5 separate regions of the Homo sapiens genome follow, and regions 2, 3, 4 and 5 are each linked to region 1. The links are contacts of gene promoters, found by promoter capture Hi-C in human tissues and cell types (Jung and others, 2019). All regions are on one chromosome and are shown on one strand. Each heading gives the region's core, a stretch centred on a gene start or on the middle of the fragment in contact. The rest is flanking DNA. Distances are from core to core; before and after follow the strand shown.

What was found. Contacts are between HindIII fragments. The study calls those that stand out against the background at their distance.
Region 2: a fragment that was not itself captured here is called in contact with the fragment with the promoter of PKMYT1 in region 1 in 1 of the 25 tissues and cell types used here (lymphoblastoid cells).
Region 3: a contact is called between the fragment with the promoter of CCNF here and the fragment with the promoter of PKMYT1 in region 1, in 2 of the 25 tissues and cell types used here (lymphoblastoid cells and spleen).
Region 4: a contact is called between a fragment that was not itself captured here and the fragment with the promoter of PKMYT1 in region 1, in 1 of the 25 tissues and cell types used here (spleen).
Region 5: a contact is called between a fragment that was not itself captured here and the fragment with the promoter of PKMYT1 in region 1, in 1 of the 25 tissues and cell types used here (spleen).

The regions. Positions count from the first base shown.
Region 1 is chr16:2,979,089-2,981,788 of GRCh38, forward strand. It overlaps PKMYT1 (protein kinase, membrane associated tyrosine/threonine 1), which reads right to left and starts at 1,358. Exons shown (of 9, transcript NM_004203.5): 1 at 1,198-1,358; 2 at 560-824. The coding sequence starts at 569. RefSeq lists enhancers at 48-924, 925-1,800, 1,801-2,677 and silencers at 1,092-1,321, 1,332-1,691. The HindIII fragment of the contact is 14,611 bases long and covers 1-2,700 here.
Region 2 is chr16:3,623,242-3,625,941 of GRCh38, forward strand. It overlaps a transcript of DNASE1 not described here. Among named protein-coding and RNA genes, the nearest start is that of SLX4, 13 kb to the left of the region's middle. The HindIII fragment of the contact is 6,693 bases long and covers 1-2,700 here.
Region 3 is chr16:2,428,121-2,430,820 of GRCh38, forward strand. CCNF (cyclin F) reads left to right here and starts at 1,327. Exons shown (of 17, transcript NM_001761.3): 1 at 1,327-1,377. The coding sequence starts at 1,362. RefSeq lists enhancers at 388-967, 403-582 and silencers at 793-1,642, 1,653-1,702. The HindIII fragment of the contact is 14,340 bases long and covers 1-2,700 here.
Region 4 is chr16:3,560,667-3,563,366 of GRCh38, forward strand. It overlaps NLRC3 (NLR family CARD domain containing 3), which reads right to left. Exons shown (of 20, transcript NM_178844.4): 5 at 2,343-2,700; 6 at 1,036-1,122. Among named protein-coding and RNA genes, the nearest start is that of NLRC3, 15 kb to the right of the region's middle. RefSeq lists an enhancer at 1,196-1,696. The HindIII fragment of the contact is 5,808 bases long and covers 1-2,700 here.
Region 5 is chr16:3,510,036-3,512,735 of GRCh38, forward strand. It overlaps CLUAP1 (clusterin associated protein 1), which reads left to right. Exons shown (of 12, transcript NM_015041.3): 5 at 2,348-2,443. Among named protein-coding and RNA genes, the nearest start is that of CLUAP1, 10 kb to the left of the region's middle. The HindIII fragment of the contact is 6,420 bases long and covers 1-2,700 here.

The DNA of each region.
Region 1 (2,700 bases), core at 108-2,607:
ACTTCGGGAGGCAAGGTGGGTGGATCACTTGAGGTCAAGACTTCGAGACCAGCCTGGCCTACATGGTGAAACCCCATCTCTACTAAAGATACAAATTTTTGCCGGGCGTGCTGGTGCATGCCTGTAGTCCCAGCTACTCAGAGGCTGAGGCAGGAGAAATGCTTGAACCCAGGAGGTGGAAGTTGCGGTGAGCCGAGATTGCGGCATTGCACTCCAACTGGGCGACAAGAGCAAAACTCCATCTCAAAAAAATATACATAATAGTAAATAAAAAATTAAAAAGAGCAGTCTCCAGTACCTGAGGGAGTACAGGGGTGAGGGGAGCGATGCTACCTGGGCCTGGCTGGCAGGCTGCCCTCCATCTTGTGGAGACTCTTCCTCTGACTCTAACTACCTCAGAGTCCCAGCCCAGGGTTTCTCCAAGTCAGGAGCCAGGGTGTTGGGATCCTGGAGGTCACTGGTCACAAGCACAGCCTCCAGGCCCAACCCTGGCACACTCGGGGACCTGGGCCTGTGCATCTTAACCCAGTTCTCCCACCGTCCCTGCCCTACGACTTACGTTCTAGCATGACTGGCCTGGCCCAACAGCCTCAGTGGTGGGACGGGGGAGGCAGGAGCAGGGGCTCCCACGTGAATCCAGGGTGTCCCTGAGCTAAGGCCAGGCGGGGGTGACCTCCGCAGCTTCCGGGGCCCTGGGCGATCGGGCCGTCTCGCCTCACCCTCTCACCAGGCCCGACACATCTGCTGGCCACCTTTCCCGGTAGACGGTAAGTTCCTCCCAGGCAGGGCCGCGGCTGACTTCACTCCGTGGGTGTGGGGAAGCCCTGGCGAACAGAGCAGTGGACGGGCTGTCACGAGGGAAGAGGGGCTGTTGCAGAAGAAGAGAGGCTGTCCCGGGGCAGGGGCTGTCACGGAGGAAGGACTGTCACGGGGAGGGCGGCGGCGCGGGGTTGATGGACAGCAGGCGGGGTCTCCGGGAGGGGCGAGTAGGGCGGGACCGCCGCTGGGAAGGGGCTCGAGGCAAGGGAACCAGGAATTGGGGAGGACGGGAGGCAGGGGCTCGCGGGGGCGGGCCTGAGGGGACGCGAGCGGGCCGCCGGGGAGGCCTGAGGGGCAGGGGTAACGCAGACCTGGCGAGGCGGAGGGGAGCGGCGAGGTGGCCACGCCGAGGCCCCTCACGGCGGGGTCTGGGCTCACCTGGGGCGACTGGGCGGGGCGCGGGTCCGCGAGGGCCCAGATTCCGGGTCCGCGGAGGCCACGGGACCCCTCGGGTGGCTCAGCGGGCCGGAGTCTGCCGTCGACTGTTCCGGACGCCCGGGCGGAGGACTCCCGTGAGGGGGAACGGCCCGTGAACGCGCGCGGAGCTGCTCGCGCCAAAAATTCCAAACCGGCCTCGAGGCTCCTCCCCCTCCCCAGTGCAGCCCGTCAGGGGTGCCCGGGCTCCGAGGCTCCGCCCCTCGTGCTGCGTGCGCGCCGCCGAGCCGCCCCGCCGCTCACTGCGCAGGCGCACAGGATTCTCCGCGCTGGCCCGGGGCGTGGGTGGCGGCCTGGTTCTGAGTCGCTGCGCGGGGCTTCAGCCGCCCAGTCCCTGGGACGCCCACTGCCCTCCAGGCCTCGCACCCGACACCCACCGCCCTCGCTGGGCTGGCGTAGTGTTTGGGTCCATAAAAGGGACCGCCATCCCGGTGCTCGGAGCAGGCGTAGCCCCAGGGTTACTCCGGGTAGGACCAGGAAGTCCCTACGGCCTCCTGGGTCCCGGCACCCCCCTTCTCACTCCGGCCGTGTTCTGAACCAGGGTCGCGGTGGGAGGCCAGACGCACGACCCCCAACCCCTAGCGCACGGCTTCGGGAGCCAGAAAAAGCCGCCTCTTCCAGGAAGCTCTCCAGATAGGCAGGACTCTGCTTGGCCTGACCTCGCCTGCCTGCAGCTTCCCTGCCAACAGGCCTCAGATACTTTTTTTTTTTTTTTTAGACAGGGTCTCACTGTCACCAAGGCTGGAATGCAGTGGTGCAGTCCCCAGGTTCAGGCGGTTCTCCCAACCTCAGCCTGCCGAGTATGTGAGATCACAGGCGCGCGCCACCGCACTCGGCTCATGTATTTTATTTTTAGACAGGGTCTCATTCTGTTGTCCAGGCTGGAGTGCAGTGGGGCGATCTCGACTCACTGTAACTTCCGCCTCCCCCGCTCAAGCGTTCCTCCCACCTCAGCCTCCTGAGTAGCTGGGACCACAGGCGCGCGCCACCACACCCAACTAATTTTTGCATTTTTTTGTAGAGACGGTGTTTTACCATGTTGGCCAAGCTAGTGTCGAACTTCTGACCTCAAGCGATCCGCCCGCCTCGGCCTCCCAGAAGGCTGGGATTACAGGCGTGAGCCACCGCGATTGGCCGCAGGATCATAGTTCACTGCAGCCTCGAGCAGCCACTTCCGGGGCAGCTCCTCCATTCTCTGAGTTTGAGACTTGCTCTCAGCTCAGATCCCTTCAGCGCTCTCCTGGCTGAACGACCTTGGGAATGCACTGAGCCTTTCTGAGCTTCGGATTAGTCTCCTCTCCTGGAAAAAAAAAAACAGCTGAGGACGCTGGGATGATCCCCTAAAGTGATTAGCAGGGGCCCTCGCGGAGCAAGTCGGGCTAGGGATTGTTCCTTCCCTCACCGAGGGGCTCTTTATCTGTTTAACTGGGTGGGAGGAGTACGCTT
Region 2 (2,700 bases), core at 51-2,550, 640 kb after region 1:
AGGACACGCTATTCAATAAATAGCGCTGGGAAAATTGGCTAACCATATATAGAAAAATGAAACCGTACCTCTATCTCTCACCGCATACAAAAATTAACTCAAAGACTTAAACATAAGACCTGAAACTCTAAAGATCTTAGAAGAAACCCTAGGAAAAACTCTTCTGGATATTAGCCTAGGCAAAGAATATATGACTAAGACCTCAAAAGCAAATGCAACAAGAAGAAAAATAGGCAAATGGGACTTAATTAAATGAAAACACTTCTACACAGCAAAAGAAATAACAGAGTAAATAGACAACCTATAGAATGGGAGAAAATATTTGCAAATTAAGCCTCTGGCAAAGGACTAATACGTAGTATCTCCAAGGATCTCAACAAGAAAAAAAAACCCATTAGTAAGTGAGCAAAGGCTGGGCGTGGTGGCTAACACCTGTAATCCCAGGACTTTGGGATGCTGAGGCAGGAGGATCACTTGAGGCCAGGAATTAGAGAGAAAGTAGGCAAAGGACAAGAACACATACTTCTCAAGTGAAGACATACAAGCGGCAAAGAAACATGAAAAAGTGCTCACATCAGTAATCATCAGAGAAATGCAAATCAAAACCACAGTGAGATATCATCTTACACTGGTCAGAATGGCTATTATTAAAAAGTCAAAAAACAACAGATGTTGGCATGGATGCACAGAAAAGGAAATGCTTATATGCTGTTAATGGGACTGTAAATTACTATAACCTCTATATAGAAAACAGTATGGAGGCCAGGTGCGGTGGCTCACTACCTGTAATCCCAGCACTTTGGGAGGCTAAGGCAGGCGGATCACTTGAGTGCAAGACCAGCCTGGCCAACATGGTGAAACCCCGTCTCTACTAAAAATACAAAAATCAGCTGGGCGCGGTAGTGCACGCCTGTAATCCCAGGAAGCTGAGGCAGGAGAATCGCTTGAACCCGGGAGGCAGAGGTTTCAGTGACCTTAGACTGTGCCACTGCATTCCAGCCTGGGCGACAGAGTGAGACTCTGTCTCAAAAAAAAAAAAAAAAGGTTAGTGGCTTTTGTGTCCTTGGTTAGCAAGGTCTTCTCTACTTTGAGATTATAAAGTAATTTTCTGCATGTTTTCTTCTAGAGTTTTTATTTTTACATTAAAATTGTTATTGGCCAGCTGCGTAAGGCACCTGGTGGTGCTCTAGGCACTGGGTTAGCGTCCCTTATGCCGAGCTCTAAACCTTCAGAATGCCCTTGCCGCCCCTGGCTGAGTTCACAGTGGCTGAAGCTGTTCCCATAAGACCCTGAATCTAGCAGCCACTGTGTACTATACCTGGAGCAGTCCAACTGGGTGGACTGTGCTCAGCATCCGAACATCTAGACAGGCAAAGCCATTCCCAGTGGTGGCCCAAACCAGCAAACATTGTGTAACAATTTTTTTGCAATCAATTTTTCTTTTCTTGTTTTTTGAGATGGAGTCTTACTTTGTCGTCACCCAGGCTGGAGTGCAGTAGTGGGAACTTGGGTCACTGCATCCTCTGCCTCCCAGGCTCAAACAGTCCTCCCACCTCAGCCTGTATTCTATTTCTGTAGCTGAGAATATAGGTTTCTTCCAGCACACCTGGCTAATTTTTTATTTTATTTTTTATTTTTAGTAGAGATAGGGTTTTGCCATGTTGCCCAGGCTCGTCTCGAACTGGGCTCAAGTGATTTGCTTGCCCCAGCCTCTCACAGTCTGAGATTACAGGTGTGAGCCATCATGCCCAGCCTGCAGTTTTTCTTATTAAAACTTAATGGGGGCCGGGGGCAGTGGCTCACTCCTGTAATCCCAGCACTTTGGGAGGCCTAGGCGGGCGGATCACCTGAGGTTGGGAGTTCAAGACCAGCCTGGCCAACATGGTGAAACCCCGTCTCTACTAAAATACAAAAGTTAGCCAGGTGTGGTGGTGCATGCCTGTAATCCCAGCTACTTGGGAGGCTGAGGCAGGAGAATTGCTTGAGCCCTGGAGGCAGGGGTTACAGTGAGCCGAGATCGTACCACTGCATTCCAGCCTGGGCAACAGAGTGAGACTCTGTCTCCAAAACAAAAAACAATAAAACAAACTAATGGGGCTAGGCATGATGTTATATTCTTGTAGTCTCTGAAACTTGGGAGACTGAGAAGGGAGAATTGCCTGAGCCCATGGTTCAAGGCCAGCCTGGGCTGTGTAGTGAGACCCATCGCTGCAAAAAAAAAATTGTTTAAATAAAATTAGCCAGCATGGTAGCACATGCCTCTACTCCCAGCTATTCAGTAGGCTGAAATGGGATCGCTTGAGCCCAGGAGGTCGAGGCTGCAGTGAATCATAATCGCCTTTCTGCACTCCAGCCTGGGCAACAGAGCAAGACCCTGTGTCAAAAAATAAATAAATAAATGAAACGGCCAATATAGAATAAAGGTGCTAAAAAAGGCATAGGAGGGAATCTTCATGACTTTGGGGTAGGCAAAAAATTCTTAAACAGGGACACAAACCACTAACCATAAAGAAGTGACAAATTATGTGACATTAAAATTAAGAACCTTTATAAGGCACCATTAAGAGGGTGTAAAGGGCTGTGCATGGTGGCTCATGCCTGTAATCCCAACACTTCAGGAGGCCGAGGCAGAAGGATCGCTTTAGCCCAGGAGTTTGAGATCAGACTGAGCAAAATAGTGGGACCCTGTCTGAACAAACA
Region 3 (2,700 bases), core at 77-2,576, 550 kb before region 1:
AACTCGCTCAGCCTGTCCTCTCTTCACCCTCCTTCACCCGCTTCCTGATTCCGGGACAGGGAATATTCCCAACTTCCAGACCCTCTCTGGGGCCACGGACTCTTCTGTACCCTGTGCTGTGATCACCTGTTTACTCTGTCTCTTGCCCCAGGCCGGCTGAAGCCTGCACGCCAGGGCTCCTGTCTGTGTGCCCAGGGCAGGCCCAGTACTTGAAGGAGTTCTATGGGGACCCGGAAGGATGGAAGGGTGCAGACTGAGGGAAGCGTGAGGGAGGGGTGGGCAGCCTTGGCCCAGGCCCCTGCCTTCCCCAGGAAAAGCCCCCTCTGTCCTCCACCAGACAGTCAGGAGGCTGCGAGTCTTCCCCTTGACAGCCTGTGCCGTAAAAGGGGTGCGGTGTGGCTGACTCCTGAAGGACAGCTCAGATGGGCACTGCCCAAGACAAGAGTGAGCAGATACGACACTTCCCGCGGCGAGCAGCTCCAGGTAGCAGCCGAGGAGGCCAGACAGGGGGCAGCATCTGGCCAAAGTGATGGGGAGGGCTTGCCCCGGGGCTGGAGCACTGAGGCGTCCAGGGTGCGCCACGTTTCGCGGGAAGAAGGGGTCAGCGTTCCGCGGGGGAGACTTCCCAGCGTCAGCTCCGACCTCCTCTTTCTCTACCACGATCCCGGCCAGCATCCCCGCCCAGCAGCGGCTCAGCCACAAACCCAAGGGTCTCCACCTGAAGCAGGCGGCGGAAGGGAAGGCCGTGCAAGCTGGGGGTGAGGGTCGCGGGCCCAGGAGCGACCCCGGGACCCGGGCAGGGCACGGCCTCGTCTTAGAAGCGCCACGTCGAGGCTGTCCCAGGCTGGATCACGGCCGCGACTGCGAGGGACGCCAAGGAGTCCTCTTTCCCCTGGCCGCAGGCGTGCGCCTTCGCAGCCCATCTGGCACCGCAGATGCCGGTCGCCGGGGTCAGCGGCGAAGCCCGAACCCATGCGGCCGGGAGGGGACGCCCACAAACCCCTGCCCGCCGGCCGGGAAGCGCTCCTACGGGACCCCAGCCCCGTTGGGGAGGCGGGGCGGCCACGCGGGTTCCACCAATCAGCGGCCAATGTTCGAATTCGCGTCCTGGCGCGGCCAATGGCGGGTCCCGGAGCAGGCGGGGAGGGCGTGGAGGGCGGTAAATGAGGCGAGCACAGGGCGGGACATGGGCGGGGCCGGCGGCGGCCCCCCCGGGCAGGCCAATGGGAGGGCCGGGTGCGTTTGAAAACTGGGGTGGGCGGCGGGGCGGGGTCTGCGCCTGCGCGAGGGCTACGCGCGCTCCGGCCGGGGCGCGGGCGCGCTCTCAGGCGGGCTCCGGCGGCAGCGACGCGAGCGCGGCGATGGGGAGCGGCGGCGGTGAGTGCGGGGCGATGTCCGCTGGTTTCTGCCCCACACCCCTTCTGCCTGCCCTGCGGGGCGGACGGTGGGTCCCGCGGGAGGGGAGGCCCTGGCGGCCTGAAGAGGGCTGGCTCGAGCTCTTTAACCCGGGGCGGATGTCGCGTCCCGCGCAGGGAGCCCCGGCGGCCGGGCGCGCGGTTTAAATGCCCGGCGGGCGCCCGAGCCCCTCGGAGCCTTCCCCCGCGGCGACGTTTTCCGGCCCTTTCCTGGGGCAACGATCGGGTCCCGGGGCAGCGATCCGGCGATCGGGTCCCGGGGCGGCGATCGGGTCTCGGGGAGCCAAACACCAGCGCCTCCTGGTCGGGGAAAGGGCTGCGGAGCGCGTGGGGGCGAAGCGATCCCGCAGCCCGGCCGGGCCCTGACCGAGCCTCAGTCCAGCGGGGCCGTGGACCTAGCTCTGTGGAAAGCAGCGTTCGGCCCCGCGCGCGTTGAGGCACAGGAAACACGAACTGTGGTTTCAGCTATTATCATAGTATCTGTCCTGGAGCCGGAGAATGAGGAATATTTTATGGAGAGGTCTATAGAATCTTTGAGAATTCGTCGCCCTGGAATACGTTTGGCTTTTGCAGCTGATTTAATTGCTAACAGGAAGACCCCGGTCAAGAGAGGGGAGCCGGGAGCAATCGCTAGGAAGTCCTAGCAAGGCGGGGAGGGATTTGGGCCCACAGAGGGGAGTGGCGCTTCCTTTCAGGACTGGAAGGAAGGATGGATAGAAAGGTAGATTTGTAGATGGGGAGGCAGGATCCTGAGGTTCCTGTCTGAGGGCTTCTGTTTCCCTGTGAAATAAGGGCTAAGGTCATCTGCTTAGAGTGAGGAAGGGGTTGCTGGAGTAGGAGTTGGAAAATCCGGCTGTGGGAAGAGGAGAGAGCACATCTGAGAAGCATGTCCGGGCTGCCTGCCTGGTGGGTGGAATGCCCGTCTCACCTTTAATGATTGCATCTGTACACAAACCTACAGGTCTAGGTTTGTGTTGGGACCTGAGCAACAACCTTACTGCGTAGCTGTCAACTCCGCATTCTACAATAGAGGGCACACTGAGACTCTGCAGAGCTGAGACTTGGACGCACACTGCCCCGGCCTCCAAGTCTGTGGCTTCTCTCCAGGGCCGACCCTTCTAATTTGGACTTGAAAACCAGACTCTTCAAGCCCACAGATCTTTATTGAACATTATGCACCTTGGTCACGTGTGCAAAAAGCAAAGCTATCCAGCAAAGGCCCCAGGAGTTTTCCTGAGAGTGAAATAGAAGGAAAACCGTCCTCAGCTTCGGCAGCTTTTTCCCC
Region 4 (2,700 bases), core at 103-2,602, 580 kb after region 1:
GGAGTCTCACTCTGTCACCCAGACTGGAGTGCAGTGGCGCTGGAGTGCAGTGGTGCGATCTCGGCTCACTGCAACCTCTGCCTCCTGGGTTCACGCCATTCTCCTGCCTCAGCCTCCTGAGTAGCTGGGACTACAGGCGCCCACCACCACGCCCGGCTAATTTTTTGTATTTTTAGTAGAGACAGGGTTTCACCGTGTTAGTCAGGATGGTCTCGATTTCCTGACCTCGTGATCCACCTGCTTCGGCCTCCCAAAGTGCTGGGATTACAGGGGTGAGCCACCACACCCGGCCACAAGATGCAATTTTAATTAAAAATTGTTTAAATTGATTTAAAATTAAATTTGAAATTAAATTTTAATTAAATTAAATTTGAAATTTAAAATTTTAATTAAAAATGCAATTGGCTGGGTGCAGTAGCTCACGCCAGTAATCCCAGCACTTTGGGAGGCCAAGGCTGGCGGATCACAAGGTCAGGAGTTCGAGGCCAGCCTGGTTAACATGGTGAAACCCTGTCTCTACTAAAAATACAAAAATTAGCCAGGTGTGGTGGGCCCCTCTAATCCCAGCTACTCAGGAGGCTGGGGTTAGAGAACTGCTTGAGCCTGGGAGGCAGAGATTACAATGAGCCGAGATCATGCCACTACACTCCAGCTGGGGTGACAAAGCAAGACTGTCTGGGGGGGATAATTATAATCCTGTGCCTAGAATGCTGTTGGACAGCAAACTTGGAGAGGTGCTTAGAGAACATTGTGCCTGGCATTATGTCAGCACACGTAGTGCTGTGGAAACACCTGCCTGTGCACAGCGGTGTCTAGTCCCGCCAGGTCACCTCCCTCTTCCTACTGATGAGGCACCTGAGCCTCTAGCACTTTCTGGAATTGGGCAGAAACAAGCAGGCTGCATCTGGAGCCACATGCTCCAAAGACACTTCTCCGTGGCAGCGCCGCTGGCCAGCTGAGCAGAGGATGATGGGAAGAGGGTTCCATACCCCACAAGACCATAGGCACCCTGGAGGTCCCCTGGGTCTGTGTTACCTGATCTTCTGAATGCGACAGTCCTTCCCACTCAGCACGCTGCCCAGCAGCTCCATCACGGGGTCCTGGAACTGGTTGGTGTCCAGCCTGGCCAAGGGGAGCAGTGACAGTGAGTGTCCCACCCGCCCACGGGCAGGGTGGGGGCCCTGGCCCGGGGCCTCTGCCTCTCTCCATCCCATGCAGCGCTATCACCGCAGCTCTGAGATCTGCGCTCAGCCCCAGTGCTCAGACCTTTCCCGTGAGAGTGAACAGGAGGCTGGGTGCCCACGAGACCTGCGGTTCCTGTGCAGAACGGCATCTTCCACGGGCTGTCGTCCTCACCACCCCACATACCGCCTGCCTCTGCGGGACACCTGGATGACCCTCAGCCTGTGTCCTTTCCTCCCTACTCACTAAGGTCCAGAGTGGCGGGCAGGGGACAGGCTGAAAGCATTCAGCGGGTGTGCAGCTTCTATCAGACTGGATGGTTCTGAGGGGGTTATGAATTGAATTGTGTCCCCACAAAAGATATGAAGTCCTAACCCCCTGTGCCCCAAGTATGTGGCTTTATTGAGAAATGGGGTCACTGTGGATGTACTTTGTTAAGGTGGGGCCATGCTGAAGTGGGGTGAGCCTGTAATCCAGTGTGACAGTGTCTTTTTAAGACAAGAAAGCACTGGCCAGGTGCAGTGGCTCAGGCCTGTAATCCCAGCAATTTGGGAGGCTGGGGTGGGCGGGTCACCTGAGGTCAGGAGTTTGAGAGCAGCCTGGCCAACATGGTGAAACCCCGTCTCTACTAAAAACACAAAAATTAGCCAGGCATGATGGCGGGCACCTGTAATCCCAGCTACTAGGGAGGCTGAGGCAGGAGAATCGCTTGAACCCAGGAGGCAGCGTTTGCAGTGAGCTGAGATCGCGCCACTGTATTCCAGCCTGGGCGACAGAGCAAGACTCCATCTCAAAAAAAAAGAGAGGACAGCACCATGTGGAGACAGACACAGGGAGAAGATGACCAGGCGACGGGAGAGACTGAAGTAACGCAGCCTTAAGCCAAGGGTTCCCATCAAACACTGGAAGCTAGAGAGGAAGGAAAGAACCTCTCCTATATGTTTCAGAGAGCGCATGGCCCTCCTGGCACCTTGATTTGAGACTTCTGGCCTCCAGAACTGCGAGAAAACACACTTTAGTTGTTTTAAGCCACCAAGTTCATGGTCCTCTGTTACGGCAGCCCTAGGAGACTGACAGAGAAGCTTGGTGGTGGGGAGGGGACGGCTTCTGCTCTCTCCTCTGCCCCTTCCCCAGCCCCTGCCCCCTGCCCTGGTATCCACCTGAGCTTCCGGCAGTAGAGCAGCTGGGGCAGCAGGCTCTGAAGGACGCCCTGGCTGAGGCTCAGGGACAGGTTGGCCTCCTGGGCACAGGCGTCGGACACCTGCAGGAGGTAGGCCAGGGCAGCGCGGTGCGCGGGACCAGTCAGCCTGGCCAGGGCCCCGCTCTCCATGGCCTCCTCCACGCTGCGGGCCAGCTCGGTGTGCTGCAGCTCATGCAGGCAGTGCAACACGTTGATGGCCCGTGCACAGACTGCGGCATCGGGGCGCAGGCAGCCCTGCAGGAGCTCAGCCACCTGGGTCCGGTAGGCCTGGTGCTCGCCTTGGGCCAGCAGGGAGCCGGCCAGGAGGGCATTGACCC
Region 5 (2,700 bases), core at 65-2,564, 530 kb after region 1:
CCAGGCTGGAGTGCAATGGCACAATCTCAGCTCACTGCAACCTCTGCCTCCCAGGTTCAAGTGATTCTTCTGCCTCAGCCTCCTGAGTAGCTGAGATTACAGGCATGCGCCACCACACCCAGCTAATTTTTTACTTGTAGTAGAGTCAGGGTTTCTCCATGTTGGTCAGGCTAGTCTCGAACTCCTGACCTCAGGTGATCTGCCCGCCTCAGCCTCCCAAAGTGCTAGGATTACAGGCGTGAGCCACCGCACCCGGCTTTGTATTTTTTTTTTTTTTTTTAGCAGAGATGGGGTTTCACCATGTTGGCCAGCTAGTCTCAAACTCCTGACCTCAGGTGATCTGCCTGCCTCGGCCTCCCGTAGTGCTGGGATTATAGGCGTGAGCCACCGCGCCTGTCCTCACATGTGGGTTTTTAACCAGGAGCGACACTCGTCAGCAAGAGAAGTGTCTAGAGATTGGGGCATATTTTGATGGTAGATCTCACGGGATGAGGCATGGGTTGAGAGTAAGTCAGGTGCTACAGGCCGGGTCTTGGGGCAGCCGTGCGGCAGAGCTTGCAGAGCTCATGGGTGTGTTCCGCCTCTGTGCTGTACTCTACGGGAACCACTGGCCACATGTGGCAAGCACAACTGAGGAACTGAGTTGAGTTCTGCATTTTCTTTAATTCTTAAGTAATTTAAGTGAAAATGGCCACATGTGGCTATTGGTTACTATATTAGACATCACTGCTCTGAAGTTTTTTGTGTGAGCCCCTGGAAGGATGAAGTTGCCATGTACTGAAGCAGAGAAGGTTCTGCACATGCTCCATTTGCCACGCCGATTGGCTGTCCAGGTGGAGATGGTGCACAGGTAGCTGGTATGTGAAACTAGAGCCCAGGGAAAGCCCAGGCTGGAGCTGGGAGCTGGGGAGCAATCAGCACACAGATGGTATTAAAGCCTTGAGGGTAGGAGCAGAGCCAGCAGAAAAGACGGGGGGTCCAGGAATGAAACTCTGACTCGCTCCACTTTTGAGAAGCAGAGAAGGTGACAGACTCCTGCAAAGAAGTTTGGGGATGTGCTGCTCGGAAGGGAAGAAAAGCAGCTAGAGCCAGAGCAGGCTGGATCCTGGAGGACTAAGGAAGAGGGAAGCAAGCTATCAAAGCCATCAGCTGCAAATGAAGAGGGAGAGTTGTTGCTAGTGGGTTGAAAATGAGAGCCAGAAGGTGAGGATTGGTTGTCCAGGAGAGAGGGAGAGTGAGCAGAGCAGGGAGACGTTTATGTTTGGGCTCCTTAGAAGAGTTAGCATATTCTAGGAAGAAGGGGTGACACACACATCCTAAGAAAGAAGCCTGTGCACAGGGCTCAGTGCTAAATCCTCATTGTGGTTGTCATCACCTTCCTGGCAACAGCTGCCCATCTGTGGAGCCCAGAACCATTGTAAGTCCTTAGTGGGTGCCACCCGATTTGCGCCTCTCCAAGCCTGTGGAGGAAAGTCTGAGGCAGAGAAGGAGGGCAGGGGAGGACGAAACACAGGACGTCAGGCTGCTGCAAGAGGATGTGTGTCCCTCAGGCTGTCCCTTTGTGTGGCCGCTCTGCTGCCGTCAGGCACCCTACTGTGACAAAGTCCAAGTAGGAAGCACGTCAGCTTTCTCCCAGCTATGCCCTCCTGGTTGTGGCTTCAGTTTGAGGTGACATTAGGTTTTTTGGAGAGACCCAGGCGTCCTGGAATTGGTCTCTTTAGTACTTAGATGATCATTTCCTGAGCGTGTGTCCCGCAGCCTGTGAGCATGTAACTGGGGAAGCACATGTTTGTGGTCACGTGTCCCAACCAAAGGTAGGAGCTGACATGAACAGGCTAGTGGTTGAATGCATGTTAAAAATCTGTGGCTGGCCGGGCACGGTGGCTCACGCCTGTGATCCCAGCACTTTGGGAGGCCGAGGTGGGTGGATCACCTGAGGTCAGGAATTCAAGAGCAGCCTGACCAACATGTAGAAATCCTGTCTCTACTAAAAATACAAAATTAGCCGGGCGTGGTGGCACATGCCTGTAATCCCAGCCACTTGGGAGGCTGAGGCAGGAAAATTACTTGAACCTGGGAGGTGGAGATTGCGGTGAGCCGAGATCGCGCTATCACACTCCAGCCTAGGCAACAAGAACGAAACTCCGTCTCAAAAAAAAAAAAAAAAAAATCTGTGGCTGGCTGAACATGGTGGTTCTGCCTATAATCCCAACACTTTGGGAGGCTGAGGTCGGAGGGTCACTTGAGGCCAGGAGTTAGAGAGCAGCCTGGGTAACATAGCCAAGACCCTGTCTCTATTAAAAAACATCTGTTGCTGAGGTTTCTGTTTTTGTTATTTTCCTTCCAGATTGCAGATTTGAAGGCAGCCAGGCAGCTTGCGTCTGAAATCACCTCCAAAGGAGCATCTCTGTATGACTTGCTCGGCATGGAAGTAGAGTTGAGGGTAAGCATTCCAGTACTTCCTTAACCATGCAGATTTTCTCTTCAAGGTTTTCTTTTTCAATTCTGTTTCTCCCTTTTCAGTTCTGATTTAATGAAATACACCTGGTTGAATGAGCTAATGTGTGGAAAGGTGATAGAGGATATTAGCTGTCCTTCCTGCTTCTGGTGGGCACTGGTCTAGCTTTATTTATTTATTTATTTATTTTTATTTATTTATTTTTGAGACGGAGTCTCGCTGTGTTGCCCAGGCTGGAGTGC